Linked DNA regions of Homo sapiens: regions 2, 3 and 4 are each linked to region 1. Evidence: promoter capture Hi-C in 16 types of primary human blood cells and fetal thymus (Javierre and others, 2016). All regions are on one chromosome and are shown on one strand. The core of a region is centred on a gene start or on the middle of the fragment in contact, and the rest is flanking DNA. Distances in the headings are between cores, read along the strand shown. Region 1 holds the start of RP2 (RP2 activator of ARL3 GTPase). Region 2 overlaps RGN (regucalcin). Region 3 has its middle 6.1 kb from the start of CHST7. Region 4 holds the start of ZNF674 (zinc finger protein 674).

Region 1 (3,457 bases), core at 764-3,263:
TTGGTTAGAAATTCTCATTTTGATTGGCTGAGTTGATCAAGATTTTAACTTTTATTATACACACACTCAGAAGCATGAGCTTATTTTATATATCCAATAACATCTCTTACAACTCTACAACTACAGAACTTAGTAGTGTTCTCAAAAAAAAAGGTTCTCTGTAAGCTCAAAACAGTTTCTACAATTGAAAGTTTATTACACACTCATTTGTGGGGAAAAAGCTTAGATGTTGGTGTCCAATGTTATATTTCTCAATGCATTTACTTAGCCAATGGGCAAAAGAAGAAAAAAAATCACAGGACACACACACTTATCTAAAAGAAGGATTAACATGAGAAGTCCTAACTAACCTGAATATTATGTTAATAAACATTAACTGTAAAACAATTTATTGTGAAACGATGAGTCATAGGCAGCCAAGACTACTATAAATAAAAAAGGCATTTTATTTAGTTTAGATTTAGCCTGAGTTCAAAAGAAAAAACTAAAATAAAAATGAAATATGCAACTTTCTCTAAGGCAGACAATTCAAGCTAAAAGAACATTGTTAGAAAGCCAAAGGCTGAGGAAAACAATATCTTTTAAAAACCGCCCATCAGATAACTTTAAATGGCAGGTGCAATCTTCTTGTGAAATAGAAAGCATAGTACTTTCTTCCCCTACATTATAAAATGCTACTATCGAGTATGACTAACAGAGAATAAAGGTACCATGTGACCCAAGAAGGGTGTGTATGAGAAGTAGGGGCAGAAAGACGGGGCTGAGAAAAGCTGCAAAAAGCTTTCAATTTCCTAACTCTGACTCTTAGAGACCAGAGCTTACCTGAATACATTCTGCTGGGGATTGGAAATCATGCAGAAAGGTCTGTGATTCCAAAACGTTAATACATTTATTATAAAGTAATCTTGGGTAAAGATATGTTGCCTTAAGCAAAGAGTTAACTGTTCATAATACCCATTTGAAAAATCTCTCATTTTGTTTGGGAGAAATAATTGATAAGTCCATCAAAGTAGTTTAGTAAGCACAAATGGAGAACTATGTAGAAAGAGGAACTATTATGAAATGTATGACCGAGTGTGTTTTGTGTAAGACTAATGGAGGTTTTCAAAGGTTTTTCGTTTCTGGCTATATACAAAAATAAAAATAAGGGCGTTTTCATTCATTTAAACCAGCAGTAAAATACTGCCTGGTTTATGCCGCTTATTTTCACCTTACAGTCTTAATACACATTCCAAGACTGATGCGATATTCATTATTTCTTTCGGATAACTGGAAGAGGAGGGGGAGTAAAGCTGTACATTAAACAGTCCACTTGGTAATTGAGAAAATTCAGCAGTGAAATATATCATGAGGCACCAAAGAGATTTGCCGGGGAGGGCAGACAAAAGAGAAAACAGCCACAGAACATTAAGCCCCGGAAGAGATGAGAATCGGTCCCATATACGTAACTCGACGACTGGACAAAACCCCGCTTGACGCTGCCGGTGGGTGAAACGAGGTGATTTGAGATTCAGGGCGTTCTCGGCTCTTTCCCTCTCTCGAATCGATCATCTCCAACAGGAAGTCAGAGCAAGGCAGGGTTCGGAGTCAGAGAAAGCTCCCGGGGGAGTCTGTCTACCACGACAACAAACTCCTAAGGCTCCTTCCGGAGCTCCACAGCCCTCTGGGCGGCCTCTCTAGCGCTGTACTTCACGTCCCCGCTCCCCAAAAAAGTCGTGCACCCCGACTTCAGCTATCCGCGTTCAAGAGAGTGCGGCAGCAGTTGGGTCGGCCCCCTCAGCGGTCCCGGGCCGTAAGGGACCTGGCGGAGCGGCTCAGGGAGGCTGAGACGGCGGCTACACGACTTTCATTACCTTCTCGCGCTGATCCCAGCTGTACTGCTTTGGCCGCTCCTCCTCGTTCTCGGGCCGCGACTCCTTGTCAGCCTTCCGTCTCTTGGAGAAGAAGCAGCCCATGGTCCCAGCCCGCGGAGCTCGTTGGCCAGCTCACTAGCTCAGGCACTTCCTAGAGTGTGGCGTGAACCCTGGGAACCCCGGCCTCGCAGCTCTCCGGACAACGCCCCGCGGAACCGCCCAACGGTCCGCAGCCTTAGTTTGCCCGCCAGGCCCAGCACCCCTTCCCCTTTTTCGTCGCCCTGACGACCCAGCGCAGCCAATGAACGCTCAGCGCCTGTTGAGCCAATCAAAGCCTCTCGAGCAATCCTGCGCGGCCTATGAAGAGAGGCCGACATACCCACATACCAATCCACGCCTGGCTCCTGCGACAGCCCCTGGCGGCGGGGCGGGCCGGCTCTGGCGCAAGCACGGACAACCCCGCCCACAGCTGTGGCACGGACCGCCCTCGGCCCCGCCCCTCCTGGAACTTGGTGGGTTCTCTAGCTGGTGGGAGGCCAGGCTCGGTATCCGGGTTTTTTTTGCCCCTGATTCATAAATTTGCAAGTTCAAGGCGCGGGAGAGATCTCTAGTTGAACATTAGATTTATCTTATGATGAAAGTTGTGAGGGACAGAAATTCCCGCTGACACAAGAAGACCCTGAAATTTGTATTTCTAAATCCTCTTCTCCCCTCATCACCCTTCCTACCGCCCTCTCATCGCCTGGCCAGGGTCACCCCCTCAAGAATTGTACCCCATAACCTCCCAATCCTCTTCTGTGCTCTTTCTTTCTTTCTTTCTTTCTTTCTTTCTTTCTTTCTTTCTTTCTTTCTTTCTTTCTTTCTTTTTCTTTCACAGGGTCTCGCTATGTCACTCAGGCTGCAGTGGCACAATCATAACTCACTGCAACCTTGCAACTTTGCAACCTTGACTTCCTGGGCTCAAGCGATCCTCCTGCCTCAGCCTCCTTCCTGAGTAGCTGGAACTACAAGCAAGCACCACCATGCCCACCTATTTTTTTTTTTTTTTACTTTTGTAGAAATGGGGTCTTGCTATGTCGCCCAGGCTGGTCTTGAACTCCTGGGCCCAAGCGATCATCCTGCCTCAGCCTCTCAAGGTGCTGGGATTACAGGCAGGACCCACCGCACCCCAGGCTGCTTCTGTGTTTTCTTAAGACTTTCACATATGGCTCTAAAATTGCACAAGTACTTAGTAAAATAGTTAATTGTGTATTGTTTCCCTATTTGAACTGTGACTTTCTTGAGATCAAAAAGGTATATCTTTTTTTTTTTTTTTTTTTTTTGATGGAGTTTTTGCTCTTGTCGCCCAGGCTGGAGTGCAGCAGTGCCATCTCGGCTCACTGCAACCTCCGCCTCCCGGGTTCAAGTGATTATCCTGCCTCAGCCTCCAGAGTAGCTGGGACTGCAGGCGCCTGCCACTACGCCCGGCTAATTTTTGTATTTTTAGTAGAGACGGGGTTTCACCATGTTGGGCAGGCTGGTCTCGATCTCCTGACCTCAGGTGATCTGCCCGCCTCGGCCTCCCAAAGTGCTGGGATGACAGGCATGAGCCACCGCGCCTGGCC
Region 2 (3,278 bases), core at 157-2,656, 260 kb before region 1:
AAAATAAATCAGAATAAAGCAGAAGGAAGGAATAACAAAGATAAAAGGATAAATCAATGAAATTGACAACCAAAAAATGAAATCAAAAGCTAGGTCTTTGAAAGATCAATGCAACTGATAAACCTCTAGCAAGACTGACAAAGAAAAAAGACACAAATAACCAATAGCAGGTAAAAAAGGGGATATCACTACAAACCTCTCAGGCATTATTAAAAGGATAATAAGGAAATACTATTAATAACTCTACATACATAAATTTGACAACTTAGATGAAAAGGATCAATTCCTTGGAAGCCGCAAACTAACAGACCTCACCAAAATTAAGTAAGGCAACCAAGTGGCCTTGTCATTATTAAGGAATGTTAAAAAGCTTCTGAAAAAGAAATCTCCGGGTCCAAATGTTTTCGCTGATGAATTTTGCCAAATATTTAAAGAAGAATAATAATTATACATTTTCTTTTCCAGATAGTAGAAGAAGGAATACTTTCCAATTCATTTTATAAGGCCAGAATTACCCTGATGTCAACCACAGACAAAAGATAGTAGCTGCAAAAATCCTCAACAAAATATTAGAAAATGGAATTCAGCAACACATAAAAGTAGTAATATGTCATGACCAAGGGAGGTTTATCTCAGGAATGCAAGAATTGATCATATTAACAGTCTAAAGAAGGAAAACCACATAATCACATTAATACATGCAGAAAAGTAAATGAGAAGGGAACTTCCTCAATTTGAGAAAGGCCATCCACAAAAATACATATAACTAATATCATATTTAATAATAAAAGACTGCATGCTTTTCTCTTGAGATTGGGAACAAGACAAGGCTGTCTACTCTTACTATTTCCATTCAACATAATAGTGGCAATTTTAGCCAGTGTAATAATGCAAGAAAAATAAAAACATACAAACTGGAAAGAAAGAAAGAAAATTGTCTCTATTCACAGAAGACATGATTATACACCCAAAGAATCTCAGAGAAGCTACAGAAATACTCTTAGAACCAATTAGTGAGGTTAGCAAACTCATCAGATACAAAGTCAACCTATAAACGCCAATCACACTTCTATAAACAAGCAATGATCAACTGGAAACAAATCCAAAAAATAATAATAAGGTTGGGTGTGGTGGCTCACGCCTGTAATCCCAGCACTTTGGGAGGCTGAGGTGTGTGGATCGCTTGAATACAGGAGTGCAAGGTTGCAGTGAGCTATGATCGTGCCACTTCACTCTAGCCTGGCCCATAGAGCAAGACCCTGTCTCAAATAATAATAATAATAACATTTACAATAGCTCCCAAAAGTGAAATACTTGGATATAAATCTAACAAAACATGTACAAGATCTGTATGCTGAAACCTACAAAACACTGATGACAAAAATTGAAGAAGGCCTAAATAACGGGAGAGACATGCCCTGTTCATGGATAAGACTCAGAATAGTAAAGAAGTCAATTATCTCCAAATCGTTTTACAGATTTAAAGCAATTTCAGGCCTGGCGCGGTGGCTCATTCCTGTAATCCCAGAGCTTTGGGAAGTCAAGGCGGGAGGATCACCAGGAGTTTGAGGCCAGCCTGGGCAGCATAACAAGACTTCGTCTCTGAAAAGCAAAAAATCCAAAAAACCAACCAACCAAACAAACGAAAAAATGACCATAGTGGCACGCACCTGCAGTCTCAGCCCAGCTACTCGGGAGACTGACGTGGGAGGGTTGCTTCAGCCTGGGAGGTAGAGGCAGCAATGAACCATGATCGTGCCCCTGCACTCCGACCTGGGTGACAGAGTAGATCCTGTCTAAAAAAAAAAAAGCAATTCCAATTAAAAAATTGTAGCTTGATTTCTTTTGTAGATATCGTCAAGCTGATTTGAAAATTTATATGGAAGGTCAAAGGAATTAAAATAGCCAAAACAATTTTGAAAAAGAGCAAAGTTACAGAAATCACACTACCTAATTTTAAGACTAATTTATAGTGACAGAAAGCAGATCAGTGGTTTCCTGGGAGCAGGGGACAGGCAGGCAGAGGGGCTGAAGAAAAGGATTATGACAGGACAAGAAAAGTTTTGGGGTAGTGGATAGATTCATTATCTTGTTTGTGGTGTTGGTTTCATGAATGTATATATGTGACAAATTTGTCAAATTATACACTTTAAATATGTACAGGCCAATTATAACTCAATAAAGCTATTTTTAAAATAAGTATTCTTTCCAAAGAGACATATTACTTTTACATCCAGTAGGTGGCAGCTGGAACCATGGATTTTGACAGCATGTTTGAGTCTAACCCTCCAGCCGTATTTTAGTTTGTAAAATAACATATAGGAGATGAAATATCTATGTAGGTTAGTTAGCATTGTGGTATATTTTATAAGATTGTGATGAAAATAAAAAGGAACATAATAGGTCATTACCAGGTTACTATTTATTGTTCCTTGAAGCTTTAATATAGTTAAGTATGAAATGCAGAATCAAGAAGAGATATGTACCCACCCACCCTGGCAATTTACAAAGAATCAAGAGGCTGATTGACAGTTGAACGATTCTTCGCCCTTCTATAGTACCTTTTACAGAAAGCCTTATAAGTGTGTTATCAAAACCACCTGTCACCCCTTGTTAAAAATGCTCTGCCTTTTAAAAGTTGTAAATTAAAACTTAACGCTGTTAATAAAATCATTGCCTCATTTTTCTTTCTAACTAGATTGAAATTTCAGGCCCAGAATTCTCTAGTTGTCTTCAGAGCTCCCTCTGGCAGGAAAGAAGACCTGTCCTCATCCCGCATAGGAGTAGGGAGCAATTCCTTTGACCCCCAGACCAGTTATCTGTTGAAAAAGAAAAGAGGGAATCTCAGGTGAAAGGTAATTCACAAGTATTCTTCAAAAGCATTTTTATGATTTGTAGTAATATACTTAGCCACCTATTATCTTTGTTTTATCTCCTATCATAAAAAGGAATTACCTGACTGGATATTTATGGTCCAACCCAATTATTCATATAGTTAATAATTCAACTAGCAATCATTTACGACTAACTTAGATTTAAAACTGGATTACTCCTATCATCTGCCGCCTGCTAAGAAAGGGGTTTCTACATTATGTATTTCTTTTCAGCTCAAAAGCTCTACGATTTTTATCAGTGTTTATTCTGCTGCCAAAAGATGTTTAAAATCTGAAAAATCCTTAAGACATCAAAACAATCAACTGATCTTCTAGGCATGTTGTAAATACTGGCTTTCCAAGTTCATTCTACTGATCTGAAGAATTTCAATAAACAGGAAGTAA
Region 3 (3,395 bases), core at 630-3,129, 270 kb after region 1:
TGCATCCTCCTTTAGCATAGCTGCTGCTAACACATACAGTACCCTTGTGAGAATCAGAAAGTGCCCCCTCCAGACAGATGAATTGCAAGGGGGCTGACCCCATTCAAATAAGTACCCCTTCCTTCAGGCCACAGCCCCAGTCCAAGGTTAACAGCTTGAAGGCAGAACCTGGCCAGATTCTAGCCCGCTGTTGCATCTTTCTGCCAGGTACCCTCACTCTGCCCTTCTCCTACCCTTGTCCTGTTGCCACTGGTTTCTCTACCCACTCCTCACAGCCCAGCTTCTTAGTAGAGCTGTCTATACTAGTTCTCTCTGTGCTCTCATCTCCTACTCATTCTGTGGCAGGCCAGGTCTCCCTAACGGCTGAACAGGCAGGCCTCCCTAACAACTGTTTCAGCACTGAGTGGTTAAGCTAACTATTAAAAGCTAAGAGAGCCAGTGCCCTTATACAAAGGCTGGAAGGTAACAAAAGCACACCAAGAGTTTTGCCTAGGTCTTTCCTGGGCCTTGAAGCGTGACAAGAGAAGGAAGGAGTTCTTAACAGGACCCATTTAAGATTAAACAAGTTTCTCTGGGTGCAGTGGTTCATGCCTGTAATCCCAGCACTTTGGGAGGCCGAGGCAGGCAGATCACTTGAGGTCAGGAGTTCGAGACCAGCTTGGCCAACATGGTGAAAACTCGTCTCTACTAAAAATACAAAAATTAGCCGGGCGTGGCATGCACCTGTAATCCCAGCTACTTGGGAGGCTGAGGCAGGAGAATCACTTGAACCTGGAAGGCGGAGGTTGCAGTGAGCCGAGATTGAGCCACTGCACTCCAGCCTGGGCAATGAGTGAGACTGTGTCTCAAAAAAATAAAATAAAATTTAAAAAGATTAAGCACATGTTATTAGTGGTCTGAAGGAACTCCCCAAACCTCCATGATTTAGCAGGAGATAAGATAAGGGCAATCACCCCAGCACCTGGATCCATTTAGATTAAGTAAATTTACTGAGGCTCCAGAGGAAGGTCTTCAGGACTCAGACCTTAGTTATAGATTAGAAGAAGTTAATCACTTATGTCTTTAGATGAATGCACACTTACACGTAGACATGTAGCTTAGAAGGTATGTAAGCTCTGGAAAACTTTGTAATTTTGAGTTGGTCTGGTGATAATTTCCAGGCCTTCTCCCTGCACCTGGTTACAGAAATAAAAACTCTCTTCTTTCCCAGTTCACCTGCATCTTGTAATTGGGCTGAGAGAATAAGCAGTCCGACCCTCGGCTTGGTCCAGGAACAATTCCTCAGCACACTCCAATCTGAGTTCTGCCCCCATATTGCCACATCATCAGTTCTTTCTAAGCTTATCAATGGCTTCCATGGTTTTTTTTTTTTTTTTGAGTTTAGCTAGGATCACAGATTCACACCACCACTCCCAGCTAACTTTTTTATTTTTAATTTGTGTAGATACGGAGTCTTCCTATGTATTCCAGACTGGTCTCCAATTCCTGGGCTCAAGCAGTCCTCCTATGTTGGCCTCTCAAAGTGCTGGGATAACAAATGTGAGCCACCATGCCTGGTGCCATGTTACTGAATCCAGGACACTTTCATGGCTCACCTTACTTGACCTTTCAATAACATTTTTAACTGACACATTGTAAGTGTACATATGTATCAATAACATTTAACACTGTTGACAGTTCCCACCTTCAAATCATCTCTTCTGCCAACTTCTATGACATCACATGTGAACTGTTCTCCTAGTTCATAGCTACACCTTCAGAGCATAGCATTTGAGAGATTGACCTTTGGAGTCAGGCCACCCAAGTTGATATCCTTTATCCTTTGGAGTGAGGCCACCCAAGTTCATAGGCCAGCTCCACCACTTCAGCTCTATGGCCTTGGGCAAGTAAGTGAACCTCTCTGTGCCTCATTTATCAAACATTAGTTCTAATAGTACCTATCCTCCCCTATCCTGCAGGGTTGTTGTAAGAATTAAATTATATATATATATATATATATATATATATATATATATATATATATGCAGTCATGTGCCACCTGATGTTTTGTCAATGATGAGCTGCATATACAAGGGAGGTCCCATAAGATTCTAATACCTTATTTTTATTGTACCTTTTCTATGATTAGATGATATGTTTAGATGCGCAAATATGATCTCATGTTACAACTGTCTACAGTATTCAGTACAGTAACATGCTGTACATATAGCCTAGGTGTGTAATAGGCTATCCCATCTAGGTTTATGTAAGTACACTTTATGATGTTTGCACAATGATGAAATCGCCTAACAACGCATTCCTTGGAATGCATCCCCATCATTAAACAATGCACAACTGGGTGTGGTGTGTGTGTGTGTGTGTGTGTGTGTGTGTGTGTGTGTATAATCCCAGAACAGTGTATCCCATAGAGTAAGCTTTAAGTCTTATGAGTCGGTACATTGTTGCTGCTGTGGGAAGCTGATTCCCCAGGCCCTCTTCCTTTTCACTTTATGATCTCTTCAATGACTCCAAATTGACATTTCCAGCCCCAGCCTCTCCTTGGGGCTCCACACCTAGAAATCCAGTTGCCCACTTGACATTCCCTCTTGGTTGCCTCAATGGCATATCAATTTTAATATGTGAATGATAAAACTATCTATTCTATTATGCAGTCAGAAACTTAGGAGCCATTCTGGGTATCTCCCTCTTCCTCAGTCCCTCTTCTTCAATCCAATCTATCATCAAGTCAGGTGGGTTTTACCTCCTAAATGTCCTTTCAAATCATTCACTTATCTTCATTGCCATTGCTACTACCCTAGCTCAGAGGACCAACTGTCCCCTAGAGCACTGTAGAAACTGCCTAGCCAGTCTCTGTTTCTATTTTGCCCTCTTTTAATTTTTTTTTTTTTTTTTGAGACTGTGACTCACTCTGTCGCCAAGCATGGAGCGCAGTGGTGTGATCTCAGCTCACTGAAACCTCTGCCTCTCAGGCTCAAGTGATCCTCTCTCCTCAGCCTCCCGAGTAGCTGGGATTACAGGCGCACACCACCACGCCTGGCTACTTTTTTTGTAGAGACAAGATTTCACCATGTGGCCCAGGCTGGTCTTGAACTCCTGGGCTCAAGCGGTCTGCCTGTTTCGACCTTCCAAAGTGCTGAGATTAAAGGCATGAGCCACTGCACCCGGCCTAATTTTTAATCAGTGATAGATTTCGGTCAATGCCATTTCTCTGCTCAGAATCTGTCTTGGCTTCCAATTGGTCTTTGGATAATGATGCAAATCATTAAGGTTTGAAAATTATGTTGTTAGAGGTCTTGAATGCCAGACCTTATCATGGTGTCAAGCACATAGTAGGTGCTCAACAAGCATTTGTTGTCTGATTGACTGCTGGGAAGAAGCACTTTACATTTGAGCTT
Region 4 (3,173 bases), core at 251-2,750, 290 kb after region 1:
ATGCCCTGCATCTGGTCACATTCAAATCATCAGTCCCTTCTCTTTCTGCATAAACACTTGATCTTACAGAATCAGGATATGGAGAGATGCTGGCCAGGGCCACAGATCAGGTGCTTCTGCAGTTTGCAATTTCTTTACTCTCCTCAGGACATATTAACCCTATCATACTATTAACCCTTTTCTGCCTACTGATAGTGATATCTGAAAAGGTTATCAAATCACCTCTCCTCTAGAAATAAATAGGTTGGTATCTCTAAACCTGGCCATCAGTAACACATACACATGAAATTCTGAATGAGCAGTAATTCACTGCTCACATGTCCAAGGGAAAACAGGCTCTTTTCCTGGGACTTGTACAGGAGGCTTGGAGAGAGTCACTTCCCAGGGTCTGGCTGTATTGAGTTTGCAGATTTAGGTTGTAACTCATCCAAACTATCTGGGGAATGCAAGTTAACCTGAGAGGAGAAAGAGAAAGAGGAAAAACACTCATGTTCAAATGGAAATTAAATACGTGTCTGATAGATTACACAAATGTCTTGGACACATCTATGAACAGTGTCTGGCACCAGCTGGCTCTAGCACAGAAGGGTTTGCTGTGTACCTGAGGGAGACTCTGTCATACTTGACCCAAAGAGGCCCGCTTGGTGACCAGGCAGGCATAGTAAGCATGGAGAACAACACTTGTTCTCTTTCTCCCAGACCCAGACAGGAAACAGAAAACTTTCCTCAAGTTTACTACAGGCCTTTTTAGCGGGCCATGTTGCCACTGGCTGGCATTCTCAGAGAAAACACCTCTCCGCTAAAAAGTAAAATCCAGATTCTCCCAGGGTGTCTAAGATCCTAGGAACCGGAGCCCCACCACTGGGTAGAGAACAATCAGAATGAGGCTTTCTTCCCTCACTTCGGGAGGTTGCTGGCTCTGAAGCCCGGCTCCAAAGCCCCTCTTCCAGGCCACTTCCCCGACTGAGCCAGACCTGTTGCTCTTAGGACGCTCTGAGCCAGGCCTAGGGCCCCGCTCCATGTGGCCTGCCTGGACCCTAGAGGGCCGCGCTCTGGAGCTGCCACAGATGCCAGAGGCGCGACTCTTTTTCCTATTCCTAGGAGCGGAAGACAGAAACAGTGGCCTTGGGGACAGAGGGGTGGGAACACCCCACGTCCACTGCAAGAGAACGAAGTGGAAGAAGGGATTTCGGCTTCGGAGCCGGCAGGGGCCTGGGCACTGGAAAGCCCGCGCGGAGTTCTCTCGCCTCTCGCCGCCCAGGTACGCCTCCCCGGACCTTTTGTACGACTTACCGTTGGAAATGGTCACACATTCCTTCTCCCCTTAGAGCGAACACTGTCATAACCACTGAAGCGCGGGCCGAGGAGCGCCACATCGGCCACAGGCTTTGTTGCCCCGCCTTCAAAGCCACTGCGCGTGCGCATTGCTTTGACTTCACGTTCCCAGGGGGCTGTGGGAAGCGGAAATGCTCGGCTGACCCGGAGGGTGGCGCTTCGTTCACACTGGCTGTTGTCATCCGCCCCTGAGGTTTCAGGCTGTCGGCAGTGAAGTAAGCGGGAGGGTGAGGTGGTGATGGTTTTGATCGGGGGAAGGGGGGACGGGAGGAATGACGGGAGTTTACGGGGCCGTGGGGTCATGGGGCCACGGGTGAGCGTCCTTGTGGGGATTGAGTGACACAGGCGGTGGGCGTGAGTGTTGGGGGCGAGGTTCGGGGCCAGCGAGTGACTAATTGATTGAGTCACTCAGCGCTTGTATCCTCACCCGGTGGTAACTGCCAGACACTCTTGCAAATGTTTCACATTAGCAGGAGCCCTGTGAGGTGTTACGATGATTATTTTCATGTTATAGAGAGAAAACGGTACAGTGTGGCTTGGCAACCTGTCCAAAGTCCCGTAGGTAGCAAACCCGAGGAATCCTTTTTCTTTTTCTTTTCCTGTACTTTGTTTATCATGTTTATTGTTTCCAGTGTGTCTCTTCCTCCAGACTAGAAATCTGGAGCTGGGAATTTGAGATTTTGTTCACTGATGGATTTGCAACACGGAGAACCGGCTCATGGAAGGCAATCATTTCTTCAGTGAATAAAAGTGGCACAGCAGCCAGTCAGTTGATTCCAAAGCCCGGACTCAGGAAGGCAGGGTTTCGCTCACTGAGGATAATTGAGCTGTGCATGAATGTTAACTCTTAAAACTAGAATGAGGGGTTGTCCCTCTTCTGTTGGGTAAAAACCTTTGGGTTTCACTCAACTTCACTGCATGGAAGGGAGCATAGGTGTTGCTAATTGAATCTCCTGTGGTCATTGTGTTTCCAGGGTCAGAGTGCAGACCTGAGACCACTGCTCACCGATTTCAGACTCCAGTTTATCTGTGCCTCGGCTTCCCCACTTAGTCGCAGAAGACTTAGGCTGAGGCCCCAGGAAGAGGTGAGTTCCCTGGGTCACAGGCAGAGATCTAGTGCTATAGTGATGGCCCCAACTGGGGTGTGTTTGTCTCTGAATCCCTTGGTCCTGCCGCCTTGGACACAAGAGAGGTACGCTGAGCTGAGGCGAGTTGGAGGAGAAGCCTCAGCAAGAGCCCAGACCCAGATCCTCAGAGCAAAGGAGGCTCACGGGACAGCAGGTCCTAGAAGAGCTGGACCCGTAGTGGCCTTTGTCCCTCACTTCAGCTGAGACAGAGCAAAGCTGGCTCTACTTCCAGGTGCCATGGAGGACCATGTGACAGTGCAGTTTGATTCCTGCTGGAGGAGGGACAGGTGAAAGTCACAGGTGGATGGAGGCATGGATGTCCCCCATGGGGGCAGGTGCCCTGCTGTAGTACCTGCAAAGGCGGGATGAGGCTGGGAAGGATCACAGCCAGCCACAGAGGATTGGCCTCTCCTAGCACACCTATTTGTGCACCCCCATGCTTCCTTCTCTTGCCATTGGCTATTTCTGAATTTGAGTCAGCCCCACACCATCAACCAGGCACCTGCTTCCAGGGGAAATGCTGAGTGTCCGTTCATCCTGACCAAAGTGCAGAAAATATATTTTTAGTTTATAGAATTTCAGAGTAGTCTCTAGGTATGCTGTCATCCAGCTCTGCTGCCTTATTTCAATGCTTAATGAAAGTGGGCCAGGGGACATGACCTGCTAAGCTACACGGAGCTGAACCCTGTTGTCCTGATGGTATCACAGTGA

Evidence for each region. Contacts are between HindIII fragments. The CHiCAGO score rates a contact against its expected background, and 5 or more counts as called.
Region 2: a fragment that was not itself captured here is called in contact with the fragment with the promoter of RP2 in region 1 in 2 of 17 cell types (erythroblasts and fetal thymus); the score reaches 6.2 in erythroblasts.
Region 3: a fragment that was not itself captured here is called in contact with the fragment with the promoter of RP2 in region 1 in 1 of 17 cell types (monocytes); the score reaches 5.7 in monocytes.
Region 4: the fragment with the promoter of ZNF674 here is called in contact with the fragment with the promoter of RP2 in region 1 in 1 of 17 cell types (neutrophils); the score reaches 5.6 in neutrophils.

The regions. Positions count from the first base shown.
Region 1 is chrX:46,835,599-46,839,055 of GRCh38, reverse strand. It overlaps RP2 (RP2 activator of ARL3 GTPase), which reads right to left and starts at 2,013. Exons shown (of 5, transcript NM_006915.3): 1 at 1,854-2,013. The coding sequence starts at 1,955. RefSeq lists an enhancer at 1,882-2,021 and a silencer at 2,332-2,411. The HindIII fragment of the contact is 11,862 bases long and covers 783-3,457 here.
Region 2 is chrX:47,092,438-47,095,715 of GRCh38, reverse strand. It overlaps RGN (regucalcin), which reads right to left. Exons shown (of 8, transcript NM_152869.4): 8 at 2,403-2,819. The coding sequence ends at 2,769. Among named protein-coding and RNA genes, the nearest start is that of RGN, 16 kb to the right of the region's middle. The HindIII fragment of the contact is 2,068 bases long and covers 373-2,440 here.
Region 3 is chrX:46,565,950-46,569,344 of GRCh38, reverse strand. No RefSeq gene overlaps it. Among named protein-coding and RNA genes, the nearest start is that of CHST7, 6.1 kb to the left of the region's middle. The HindIII fragment of the contact is 1,074 bases long and covers 1,343-2,416 here.
Region 4 is chrX:46,543,748-46,546,920 of GRCh38, reverse strand. It overlaps ZNF674 (zinc finger protein 674), which reads left to right and starts at 1,500. Exons shown (of 6, transcript NM_001190417.2): 1 at 1,500-1,550; 2 at 2,310-2,420. ZNF674-AS1 (ZNF674 antisense RNA 1) reads right to left here and starts at 1,431. Exons shown (of 2, transcript NR_015378.3): 1 at 1,294-1,431; 2 at 1-455. RefSeq lists enhancers at 1,162-1,311, 927-2,126. The HindIII fragment of the contact is 22,375 bases long and covers 1-3,173 here.